Regions from separate parts of the Homo sapiens genome. Here all the other regions are linked to region 2. The links are contacts of gene promoters, found by promoter capture Hi-C in human tissues and cell types (Jung and others, 2019). All regions are on one chromosome and are shown on one strand. The core of a region is centred on a gene start or on the middle of the fragment in contact, and the rest is flanking DNA. Distances in the headings are between cores, read along the strand shown. Region 1 overlaps SLC12A9-AS1 (SLC12A9 antisense RNA 1). Region 2 holds the start of PCOLCE (procollagen C-endopeptidase enhancer). Region 3 holds the start of EPHB4 (EPH receptor B4).

The links. The method cuts DNA at HindIII sites, captures the fragments that hold promoters and counts their contacts. A contact is called where the count stands out against the background at its distance.
Region 1: a fragment that was not itself captured here is called in contact with the fragment with the promoter of PCOLCE in region 2 in 1 of the 25 tissues and cell types used here (dorsolateral prefrontal cortex).
Region 3: the fragment with the promoter of EPHB4 here is called in contact with the fragment with the promoter of PCOLCE in region 2 in 1 of the 25 tissues and cell types used here (IMR-90 fibroblasts).

Annotation. Positions count from the first base shown.
Region 1 is chr7:100,843,184-100,846,829 of GRCh38, forward strand. The region is part of intron 1 of SLC12A9-AS1 (SLC12A9 antisense RNA 1); the gene reads right to left. It also overlaps a transcript of SLC12A9 not described here. Among named protein-coding and RNA genes, the nearest start is that of SLC12A9-AS1, 7.6 kb to the right of the region's middle. The HindIII fragment of the contact is 3,628 bases long and covers 361-3,646 here.
Region 2 is chr7:100,600,950-100,604,822 of GRCh38, forward strand. PCOLCE (procollagen C-endopeptidase enhancer) reads left to right here and starts at 1,414. Exons shown (of 9, transcript NM_002593.4): 1 at 1,414-1,602; 2 at 2,481-2,589; 3 at 3,010-3,268. The coding sequence starts at 1,508. It overlaps FBXO24 (F-box protein 24), which reads left to right. Exons shown (of 10, transcript NM_033506.3): 10 at 1-168. It overlaps PCOLCE-AS1 (PCOLCE antisense RNA 1), which reads right to left and starts at 3,089. Exons shown (of 9, transcript NR_038910.1): 1 at 2,889-3,089; 2 at 1,391-2,217; 3 at 671-734. RefSeq lists an enhancer at 2,523-3,315 and a silencer at 3,323-3,702. The HindIII fragment of the contact is 8,861 bases long and covers 1-3,873 here.
Region 3 is chr7:100,825,341-100,829,183 of GRCh38, forward strand. It overlaps EPHB4 (EPH receptor B4), which reads right to left and starts at 2,183. Exons shown (of 17, transcript NM_004444.5): 1 at 1,639-2,183. The coding sequence starts at 1,690. It also overlaps a transcript of SLC12A9 not described here. RefSeq lists enhancers at 2,187-2,982, 3,779-3,843. The HindIII fragment of the contact is 16,187 bases long and covers 1-3,843 here.

The DNA of each region.
Region 1 (3,646 bases), core at 925-3,424, 240 kb after region 2:
CCTGGCATTTCATCAACCAGAGGGAGAAAAAATAAGACATTGTAAAGCGAGAGAAGCCCCTTATGGGTCTTTTGACTCTCATGTCTATTTAGACGCAATTGGAGTCCCATGAGGAATACCAGATCAATTTAAAGCTTGAAATCAAATAGCTGCAGGATTTGAGTCAATATTTTGGTGAGTGACAGTTAATAAAAATGTAGATTAGATAAACTACATCTATTACAACCAACAGCAATGAGCTTTTCATGAGTTAAAAGAAAAACTCATGTCGGCCCCAGCCCTGAGGCTACCTGAACCCTTTACACCCTACGTGTCAGAAAGAGAAAAAAAGGCAGTTAGAGTTTTAACCCAGACTGTAGGGCCCTGGGCAAGGCCAGTGGCCTATCTCTCAAAACAACTAGACAAGGTTTCCAAAGGCTGGCCCCCAGGTTTAAGGGCCCTAGCAGCAATGGCCCTGTTAGCACAAGAAGCAGATAAACTAACCCTTAGGCAAAACCTGAATATAAAGTCCCCCCATGCTGTGGTAACTTGAATGACTACCAAAGGACCTCATTGGTTACAAATGCTAGATTAACCAAGTACCAAAGCTTGCTATGTGAAAATCCCCACATAACCATTGAAGTTTGCAACACCCTAAACCCCACCACCTTGCTGCCAGTATCAGAAAGCCCAGTTGAACATAACTGTATAGGGGTGTTAGACTCAGTTTATCCTAGCAGGCCCAACCTCCGAAACCATCCTTAAACATCAGTAGACTGTGAGCAGTATGTGGACGGAAGCAGCTTCGCCAGCCCCTGCAAAGTGACTCTGAAGAAGATGACAAGCCCTGCTCCAGTCACACCCGGAAGCTGACTGGTCCACGCATGGCCGAAGCATGAGAAAACTCATCGCAGGACTCATTTGCCTTAAAATTTGGAATTTTACAGTAAGGACTTCAACTGACCTTCCTCAGACTGAGGACTGTTCCCAGTATATACATCAAGTCACTGAGGTAGGACAAAAGGTTGCTATGGTCCTATTATTTTACAGTTATTATAAGTGTACTAGAACTCTAAAAAAGCCTTGTTTGTATAATGTTATTCTGTACAAGGTATGTAGCCCAGGAAATGACCAACCTGATGTGCGTTATGACCCACCTGAGCCTCCCATGACCACAGTTTTTAAAATAAGATTAAGAATGAAGACTGGTGGGGGCTCACAAACGATATGAGTAAAGTGTTAACCAAAACAGAAGAAAAAGAGGTGCCCAAACAAGTCACGTTAAAATTTGATGCCTGTGCTATCATTAATAGTAATAAGTTGGGAATAAGGTGTAGTTCTCTTAATTAGAAAAGAGGCTATATGGCAGAAAATAAGTACATCTGTCATAAATTAGGACTGTGTGGAAATAAATGTAAATACTGGTCTTGTGTCATTTAAGCCACTTAAATTAAAAAAAAATAAAAAGGACCCAGTCCACCTTCAGAAAGGAAAAAATGGCCCTTCCTGTACTAAAGGACAATGTAACCCTTTAGAGCTAGTAATAACCAATCCCCTTGATCCTCGCTAGAAAAAAGAGGAGCGTGTGACCTTAGGAATCAACGGGGCTGGACTGGATCCTCGAGTAAATATCTTAGTTCGAGGAGAAGTTTATAAACGCTCTCCTGAGCCAGTATTTCAAAACTTCTATGATAAACTAAAAGTGCCAGTACCAGAAATTCCAGGAAAAACAAGAAATTTGTTTTTGCAATTAGCCGAGCGTGCAGCCCAGTCTCTCAATGTCACTTCCTGTTATATATGTGGAGGAGCTGTAATAGGAGATCAATGGCCATGGGAAGCCCGAGAATTGGTACCTACATACCCAGTTCCTGATGAATTCCTGGCACAAAAAAATCACCCTGATCACTTCTAGGTCCTAAAAGCCTCAATCATTGGACAATACTGTATAGCAAAAGTGGAGAAGGACTTCATCCTTCCTGTAGGAAGACTGCATGGTGGACTTCAAACCACACAGAGAAAAATCCATTCACTAAATTTCCAAAGTTGCGGACCGTTTAGGCCCACCCAGAATCCCACCAGGACTGGACGGCCCCCACTAGGCTATACTAGATATGTGGACATAGAGCCTACGCTAGGCTGCCTGACCAGCAGACAAGTAGTTGTGTTATTGGCGCTATTTTATTTTATTTATTTATTTATTTTTTTGAGACGGAGTCTTGCTCTGTCGCCCAGGCTGGAGTGCAGTGGAGCAATCTCGGCTCACTGCAAACTCTACCTCCCGGGTTCACGCCATTCTCCTGCCTCAGCCTCCCGAGTAGCTGGGACTACAGGAGCCCGCCACCATGCCCGGCTAATTTTTTGTATTTTTAGTAGAGACGGGGTTTCACCATGTAAGCCAGGATGGTCTCGATCTCCTGCCCTTGTGATCCACCCGCCTCGGCCTCCCAAAGTGCTGGGATTATAGGCGTGGGCCACCACGCCCGGCCTATTGGCACTATTAAACCATCTTTCTTCCTACTGCCCATAAAAACAGGCCAACTCCTAGGCTTCCCTGTCTATGCTTCCCGTGAAAAGAGAAGCATAGCCATAGGAAATTCAAAAAATGATAAATGGCCCTCTGAGAGAATCATACAATATTATAGGCCTGCTACTTAGACACAAGACGGCTCGTGAAGATACTGGACCCCCATTTATATAATCAACTGAATCATATGGTTACAAGCTGTCTTAAAAATAATCACTAATAAAACCAGCAGAGCCTTGACTATTCTAGGCCGGCAAGAAACTCAGATGAGAAATGCTCTCTATCAAAATAGATTAGCTCTCGACTACTTGCTAGCAGCTGAAGGAGAGGTCTGTAAGAAATTTAACCTTACTAATTGCTGCCTACACATAGATAATCAAAGGCAAGTAGTTGAAGACATAGAGATATGACAAAACTGGCACATGTGCCTAGGCAAGTGTGGCATGGATTTGATCCTGAGGCCATGTTTAGAAAATGGTTCCCAGTGCTAAGAGAATTTAAAAGTCTTATAATAAGAGTTATAATAGTAATAGGAACCTGCTTACTGCTCCTTTGTTTGCTACCTGTACTTCTTCAAATGATAAAAAGCTTCATTGCAGGCCGGGCGCGGTGGCTCACGCCTGTAATCCCAGCACTTTGGGAGGCCGAGGCGGGTGGATCACGAGGTCAGGAGATGGAGACCATCCTGGCTAACACGGTGAAACCCTGTCTCTACTAAAAATACAAAAAAATGAGCCGGGCGTGGTGGCGGGCGCCTGTAGTCCCAGTTACTCGGGAGGCTGAGGCAGGAGAATGGCATGAACCCAGGAGGCGGAGCTGGCAGTGAGCCGAGATCGCGCCACTGCACTCTAGCCTGGGCGACAAAGTGAGACTCCGTCTCAAAAAAAAAAAAAAGCTTCATCGCTACCTTAGTTCACCAAAATGCTTCAGCACAAGTGTACTATATGAATCACTATCGATCTGTCGTGCAAGAAGACATGGGTAGTGAGAATGAAAGTGAGAACTTCCACTATTGAGTGAGTCTCAAAGGGGAGGAATAAAGGAAGAGACCGCCCCTCATATTGTCTTATGCCCAATTTCTGCCTCCAAAGAAAGAAAAAGTAAAAACTAAAAGGCAGAAATAAAATCCACAAGCAGACAGCC
Region 2 (3,873 bases), core at 164-2,663:
AGGGACTAAGGAGCAATGACCATTGTGCACATGCGTGTGGGAAGGGGTTGCTAGGGGGTGGGGACGGCTAACCAGGGTAAGAATGTTCAGGGGGCTGCCCAGGAGGGGCCCCCAACCTGACTATCATGGACAAGAGATTTGATGGATAGAATAAAAGGCTGCAGCGAGGCCTGGTGTGGAAGCCTTGGGGGCTGGGAGGGACAGGGGCAGGGATGGGGTGGGTGGGTGCCCGGCTTGGTGGGTGCAGGAGGGCAGGAGCCCAGGCAGGGGCAGGCAGCACAAGCAGCTCCAGGTCTCAGGTGCAGCAGAGCTGATGCTGCCTGAACCCTTCACATTGTTGTCCACTCCCTGCTCCCAAGAGCACACCTGGTCGTTTGGACTGGGAAGTTCTGGCCCTACCTTCTGGAACAACTCTATGCACAGATGCTCTTGGCTACCCCACTGGGATCCCCTGCCCACTAGACTTGTCCCCATCCTGAGGCAGCCTGTTCCTCCTGACCCCCGAAAGCTTCCCACCCATCTCCCTTCGGCCTGAAGCCAGCCCCCCTCCTCTCTCCCTTCTGTTTACCTCCCAGGTTTGGGCTCTATTTTCTACTCCTTCCACCTCTTCCTGAGTAACAAGGACACTCCCTTCATCCACACCCCATGCCTCCTGCCTTGCTTCCTGTACCTTCAAGTAGTTGGAAGAGGTCATGGGTGAGAATTCCTTCTCCTTGGCCTAGTCTGGCCCAGGTCTGGAGAGAAGGCAATGGAGATGTGAAGTGGAGGCCAGGTGTGGTGGCTACGCCTATAATCCCAGCACTTTGGGAGTCCGAGGTGGGCGGATCACCTGAGGCTAGGAATTTGAGACCAGCCTGGACAGCATGCTGAAACCCTGCCTCTACTAAAAATACAAAAATTAGCCAGGTGTGGAGGCATGCACCTGCAGTCCCAGCTACTCGGGAGGCTAAGGCACAAGAATTGCTTGAACCCGGGAGGCGGAGGTTGCAGTGAGCAGAGATCGCGCCACTGCACTCCAGCCTGGGTCACAGAATGAGACTCTGTCTCAAAAAAAAAAAAAAAAAAAAAAAGAAATTGAAGTGGAAAATGAGCTGGCAGGGGTGGTCAGGCAGGGGGTGAGCAATGAGGGCTCCTGAGCTGAGGAAGCAGGGGCGGGGGGAGGATGGGGGCTAGGGAGTCCTCAGAAGTTCCCGGAGATACTCCCTCACTGGACAGAGTGGGGTTCCCGATGACGTTACTTGAGGCCTGGGAGACGGCCTCTGCCCCTCACTGCTCCTCCCCCTCCTAAGGTCAACATTTATGTGTCCTAGACCTAGAGAGGTCCCAGGACACGCCACTGTCCCGCCTTCCCCATTGCCCGCCCCACTGGCCAGTCCCCACGCCCACACACCCAAGGCTGCCCCATCTGGCGCTGATTATCCTGCTGCTGCCGCCACCGCTGCTGCTGCTCTGCAAAATTCAGCTGCTGCCTCTGTCTTGAGGACCCCAGCGCCTTTCCCCCGGGGCCATGCTGCCTGCAGCCACAGCCTCCCTCCTGGGGCCCCTCCTCACTGCCTGCGCCCTGCTGCCTTTTGCCCAGGGCCAGACCCCCAACTACACCAGGTAGGTCTCTTGGCATCTTCCAGACAGCTCCAGTGAACTTCAGACCCCCGATTCCTTTGGGGTTATGCCTGGAGATATTTTGGGTTCCCTTGCTGACACACCACTCCCCAGATTCCCCACCGCCTCACCCTTCTCTGGCCCCCAAATCCTCCCCATCTGCTGCAAGACCTTGGTCTCCTGCAGGCCACCACTGCTCCCATTCCCCCACCTTCGTCCTCTGGTCTCTTAAGTCTCCCCACCCACCCAGATCCTTGACCCCCCATAGAACCCAAGAGAGAGCCAAGCTCCTGAACTTGCCTGGTAGCTGGATTCCAGGAAGGAATTCGAGAGGGATTGTAGGGGGAGGAGGGGGCAGTGAGTGGAGACTTGGGAGTCAGAATCTGAAGTAGTTTGGAACAGGGGCAGGGCTAAGGTGTGGAGCTCGCGGAGCCTGGCCTCCAGGTTCAATCAGAGGGCCATCGCCACTGCAGCTCCCTCCATCTCTCCACCCCCTCCCCCCCACCGCCTCGTGGCTGTGTCCACATCTGGAAGTAGTTAGGCGGCTCCTGTCCCTGGACTGCCAGGCAGAGTGAGGCGGGAGTCTGGAAGGGGGGCCGAGGAGGATTCCGGGAATTCCTGTTGGGGTGGGGGTGGGGACTCTTGGGGTTGGAGGGATGGTCGAGTTGCCAGGCCCACTTTTCCCTTATCTTTGTGGGAGTCTGGGACACCCCAGCCCTGTCCTGGCTGGTGGAAGCTGCCCCAGGTCTCTCAAGGCCTTTCCATTTCATCCCCCAGCTTCCCTCCTTGGAGTTTCATCCTCATCACCTCATCCCCATCTTGCCAGTGCTCCCCCGTCCCACCCGTCCCTGCTCTTTCCTGACCCCTTTTCTGTTCTCCAGACCCGTGTTCCTGTGCGGAGGGGATGTGAAGGGGGAATCAGGTTACGTGGCAAGTGAGGGGTTCCCCAACCTCTACCCCCCTAATAAGGAGTGCATCTGGACCATAACGGTGAGAAACCCCTCTGGGCACTACCCCTTGTTAAAGTCTCAGAGGCAAAAAGGCCTGACTGCGAAGGGACCCCCCCCCCGTCCCCCCCGCACCACCTTCTCAACCTGGGGCAGCTCCAAGTGTCTTCCCTCTGTCACTGAAGGCATCATTCCCACCGTAACACGCATCATCTTAACCCTTCCCTCAAATCTTCATTCTCCAGTCCCCGGCCCTCCCTCCTCTTCCAAAGCCTCAGCTCTTGTCCCCTGCACAGGCTACCAGCAGAGCTGCAGAGACCAGGCCCTCTGCTCTGCACTCACATGGAGGCCCCTTCCCATTCAGTCCGTTTCTGCAAGAAACGCTTGGGGCAGGGGAGCTGCCCTCTGGCTGGGTTGTGTGGGGCCTGACTCTGTGGGTCCCCGCCTCTGTCCCCGCTATCAGGTCCCCGAGGGCCAGACTGTGTCCCTCTCATTCCGAGTCTTCGACCTGGAGCTGCACCCCGCCTGCCGCTACGATGCTCTGGAGGTCTTCGCTGGGTCTGGGACTTCCGGCCAGCGGCTCGGACGCTTTTGTGGGACCTTCCGGCCTGCGCCCCTAGTCGCCCCCGGCAACCAGGTGACCCTGAGGATGACGACGGATGAGGGCACAGGAGGACGAGGCTTCCTGCTCTGGTACAGCGGGCGGGCCACCTCGGGCACTGGTGAGAACTCCCTCACCTCCGCCTTCCCCCCCTCCAGGCCCCGCCCCGGCCGCAGCCCCGCCCCCAGCCCTAACCTCCGCCCCGCCCACCCCGCGCCCCAGTGCCTAGGGCCCCCTACCTCCCTGACCCATTTTCCTCACTAACCGCCCCTTCAGTCCCTCCTCCCCGTCTTCTCTCCCCTCCTCCCGCACCCACCCATCCCTCTTCCAGGGCCCCCCCCAGGCGCGAGGCGGAAATGGGTCACCGACCCGCGGGTGGAATGGGCGGCCTGGGGTTACTGGGACGGTGAGTAACTGCCGGCCCCCGTCCGCAATCGGGCTCCCTCCGTCGGGCGCGAGGGGGCACCCCAGGGCTGGGGGGACTAGGTTCCTCCAACCCCGGGGGGCCCCTACACCCAGCCCTGGGCTCCCGATTGCGGTCCCATCACCCCCTCCTGGCGGCAGAAGTCTCCCTTGCAATGTTTCAGGCGGGGACCTCCCTAAAGGGGTCCTCGGGGGCTGTGCCCCAAGTCGAGGACACCCTCTCCAGCCTGAAAGGGGACTCTGCTGCAGGGCCGGGGAGATGGGATCTCCTAGGGGAAGAGGCGCGGTGCGGCCGCGGGTCGG
Region 3 (3,843 bases), core at 933-3,432, 230 kb after region 2:
GTTCTGGGAAGGGGGTGGATAGAGGCTGCCGTCTCCACCCTCCATTGTTCCAGCCGGGATAGTGTTTTCCTGTCTCCAATTTACACACTGTCTCTGCCTCGGGCTGTCCGCAGCCCAGAGCAAGCGCAGGCTCCCTTTCTGCGTCCCAGCTCAGCTGCAGCCACGCTTTGATCTGTCAGTTCGCATGTCTCTCACCTATCTCTCCTCCACTCTCTGTCCACCTCCGTTTCTCTTTCTGACAGTCACTATCTCTCCTTCGCTTTCGGCCTCCACTTCTCGCTGTTCCTCGCGGCACAGGGCCTTGGATAAACTACTTAACCTTAACTAAGCCCCAGCCTCCTCATCTGAAAAATGGGGGCAATAATAGCACCACCCTTAGCGTTGCTGGATGGGTGAAATTAATATTTGTAAGGCGCTCAGCACAGGCCTGGTGCTTGGAAACACTCAGGTAATAGGTGTCACAATCACCATTTCCTCTTTGCGTCTTTCCTTCTCACCACACCTCGTCCTCGTGGTTTTTCCACCCCTTTGGCCTTCCTCTTCCCCTCGTTCATGGTTTTTGTTCCCCCTTCTCCGTTCTCTGAGCTGGGCAAGCCTCCCCTCACTCCCAACCCCACACCTAGCCTTTGATCCCCAGCCCAGGGCAGTCCTGCCCAGCCAGGGGGAGAGGGTTTTTCTAACGCCGCTGAATCCTTCCCTTTGGGAGTCCCTCATAGCCTACCGCCCCATAACCACTTTCATACCAGACAGAGAAAGGGGGGTGTTGGCAGCTCACTGAAAGGACATTAGGGACACAGGAGAGTTTCTAGGGCTCTTGGCTCCCCCTTTAGGGGACCAGGAGGGACAGCGATCCATGGCCAAAGAAATGCTTGGAGAGACCAGGAGGTGGGAGATAGACTGGGTTAGTTAGGGCGATGTGGGGGCTGTGTAGGTCAGTTTCTACCTGGGGGCTGTGTAGGTCAGTTTCTACCCGCTCCTAGGTCTCAAGGGAAGCCCGGGACTCACCTGGGGCCGGGGTCTAGACCGCATTTAAAGGGATGGGGTGCAGCCTGTAGAAACCAAGGAGCCACCCTATACCAGGGGCAGGAGCAGTGGGCGGGAGAGCGGTTTGGGGGTTTGCTGTGTGAATGCAAAGGAGGCCATCCTGTTGCAGGAGTGTGGAACTGGAGGATCAAGGTGTGATCGCTAAGGAATTGGCGCTGGGGGTCGTTTTAGGGCCTAGCACGAAAAGTTGTGCCTTGTCTGCTGTTGCTTCTCCAGAAACCTTCCCTCATGTACGGCGGGAGGTGGGACTGGGACAGAAACTTTGCAGATAGTTTTGAATAGTGGGGTAGGGAGGAAAGGAAAGGCAGCCAGGGGCGTATGTAATCAGCAGTGAGAGTTCGGGGAGCCCGGGCAGGGGAATGTCCCGGGTCGTAGCCAGACTCCATCTCTTTCCCAAACAAAAGAAAACTCCACTACCCGTCGGGCGCCTCTTCCCCGCCCCCCTCCCGTTCCAGCACTATCGGTCCGAAGTGTTTGGGACTGCAGTGCCCGGGTAGGGGTAGTCAGAGGCCGGCCCCTCCACTCCGAGGCCCAGATGTTGGGGGGGAGGTCCCAGGAGTGACGGGGTGCGCCCCCCCCCGCAAGGAAACTCACCTTCCAAAGCTGCGGCCAACGAAGCCCAGCAGAGCAGCACCCGGAGCTCCATGGCGCCGCCTCACTCGGGTAGGATCCGAACTGAGTTTGGGGGGCCCTCGCCCCCCCAGGTCTGACTCTCCCTGGGCGGGTGGACGCCGATACTCCGCGCGGGACTCCTCGTCGGGGCCCTCAGCGCGGGCCCATGCGAGCGTGCGGGGCACCGGGCGGCGGCGCCAAGTGTGGCCCCGCGTCTGTGCCGCGCGCGCGGGCGGCGGGCCCGGAGCGTGCTGGCAGTGGCCGCGCCGGGCGGGCGCGCAGCAAGACGTGGCTGGAGTTGGGGTCCCTCCGGGGCCTCGGGGTCCCGCCCCGGGTGGCGGGGGCTGAGCCGGCCGCTCGCGGTCTCCCCCCCTCCCTGGAGTGGCTCTGCTCGCGCCGCCGGGCCGAGTGCTCTCCTCGCGGGCGGGGATGGTGGGAGCCCGAGCGGGGACGGAGCGGGAGGGAGGGAGACTGCGGCGCGGAGCCGGGCGGGCCGGGCCGGGCAGGGGCTGAGCTGCGCTGGAACTGGGCCGGGCGGCGCCGGGCCCGGGAGGGAGGGGCGCGCGGGGGGCGGGGGCAGCTCTCCCAACGCGGGGGCTCCGCGAGTGAGCCCCGGGCGCGCTGATTGGAGCTCACGCTACTGAATAATTCATGAGGGAAGCGGAGAGGGGCACCGAGTGGAGCAGGTCGGGAAGTTGAGAGAAAGTTTGGAGAAGGGGGAGGGGCGGCGGGTGAGGAACCCCGGGACCGCCCAGATGTGCGCCGTGGCGGTGCGCGCTGTCCAGGACCGAGCATGTCGGGGCTGGGGCCCAGGGACCCCCGGGACAGGCCCGAACCCGGCTGGCACCAGGGAGCAGAGAAAACACACACCCAGCAGCAACACGGAGGGCCGCCCAGGCGTGCACGTAAATGTTCACCGCGCACACAAAGCCCGCTCTGACCTTGCTGCGGACTCTAGATGCCGCTCTTGGATGCGCCCACCACCCTCTAGTGGGCGCAGGGACTGCGTTTTGGGGGAAAAGGAAGGAAAAGGGAGTAGAAGCTTTGGAGAATTGACGGCCGCCCAGGGGGCCTCAAGGAGCAATCCCAGTTTGGATAGCCTTGCAGCGAACGTTCACACAGTCACCCCATAAACATTCAGTGTTGGGGACCTACTGTGCGCGCAACCAAGCCCTGAAAAATGTCCAGAGGAGGCGCGCACTAAGCTGCGCTAGGGAGTAGAGAAAAATCGAGGAAACAACGGTAAAGAAAAGGTGGGTGTGGCGGGCGCGGTGGCTCACGCCTGTAGTCCCAGCATTTTGGGAGGCAGAGGCAGGCGGATCATTTGAGGTCAGGAGTTCAAGACCAGCCTGGCCAACATGATGAAACCCCGTCTCTACTAAAAATACAAAAATTAGCTGGGCATGGTGGCGCGCGCCTGTAATCCTAGCTACTCGGGAGGCTGAGGCAGGAGAATTGCTTGAACCGGGACCTAGGAGGCGGAGGTTGCAGTGAGCTGGGAGCTGAGATCGCGCCACTGCACTCCAGCCTGGGCTACAGAGTGAGACGAAATCTCAAAAAAAAAAAAAAAAAAAAAAAAGGTGGGTGTGTCCGAGAGGGTGAGGGGTCCGGCTAGATCTCCAAATCGCCCTTCTCACTCTCACTCTCGTGTTTTGGGGGGGCTTCCCCGCCGCCCGCAGCCATGACCCCTGAGGCTGGGGCTGCGGCTGCGGCTGCTGTCTTTCCTGAGCTGTTTCCTGTCTGGCTCCTGGGGGCCCTCGGGATGGCTGGGAGGGGCCCTTCCTCTCACTGCCAACTCCCCTCACCCTCCCATCAGTTAGCGGGGAGGGTCCAGCACAGCCGTGCTCCTCCCACCAACCCCCTTCTACTTCAGGGAACTTAACAGTATGGGTTACTGGATAGATGGATTGGAGGGGGTGCTGCTCCAGGAGTCAGCCCCTCCAAGGGGCAGAAGGAAAGGACTTAGACTCCCACAGTAATTAGCGGGGACAGATTTTTTTTTTTTTTTTGAGACAGAGTCTCCCTCTATTTCCCAGGCTGGAGTGCAGTGGCGTGATCTGGGCTCACTGCAACCTCCGCCTCCCAGGTTCAAGCGATTCTCCTGCCTCAGCCTCCCGAGTAGCTGGGATTACAGGCACAGGGCACCAACCCCGGCTAGTTTTCGTATTTTTAGTAGAGACAGGGTTT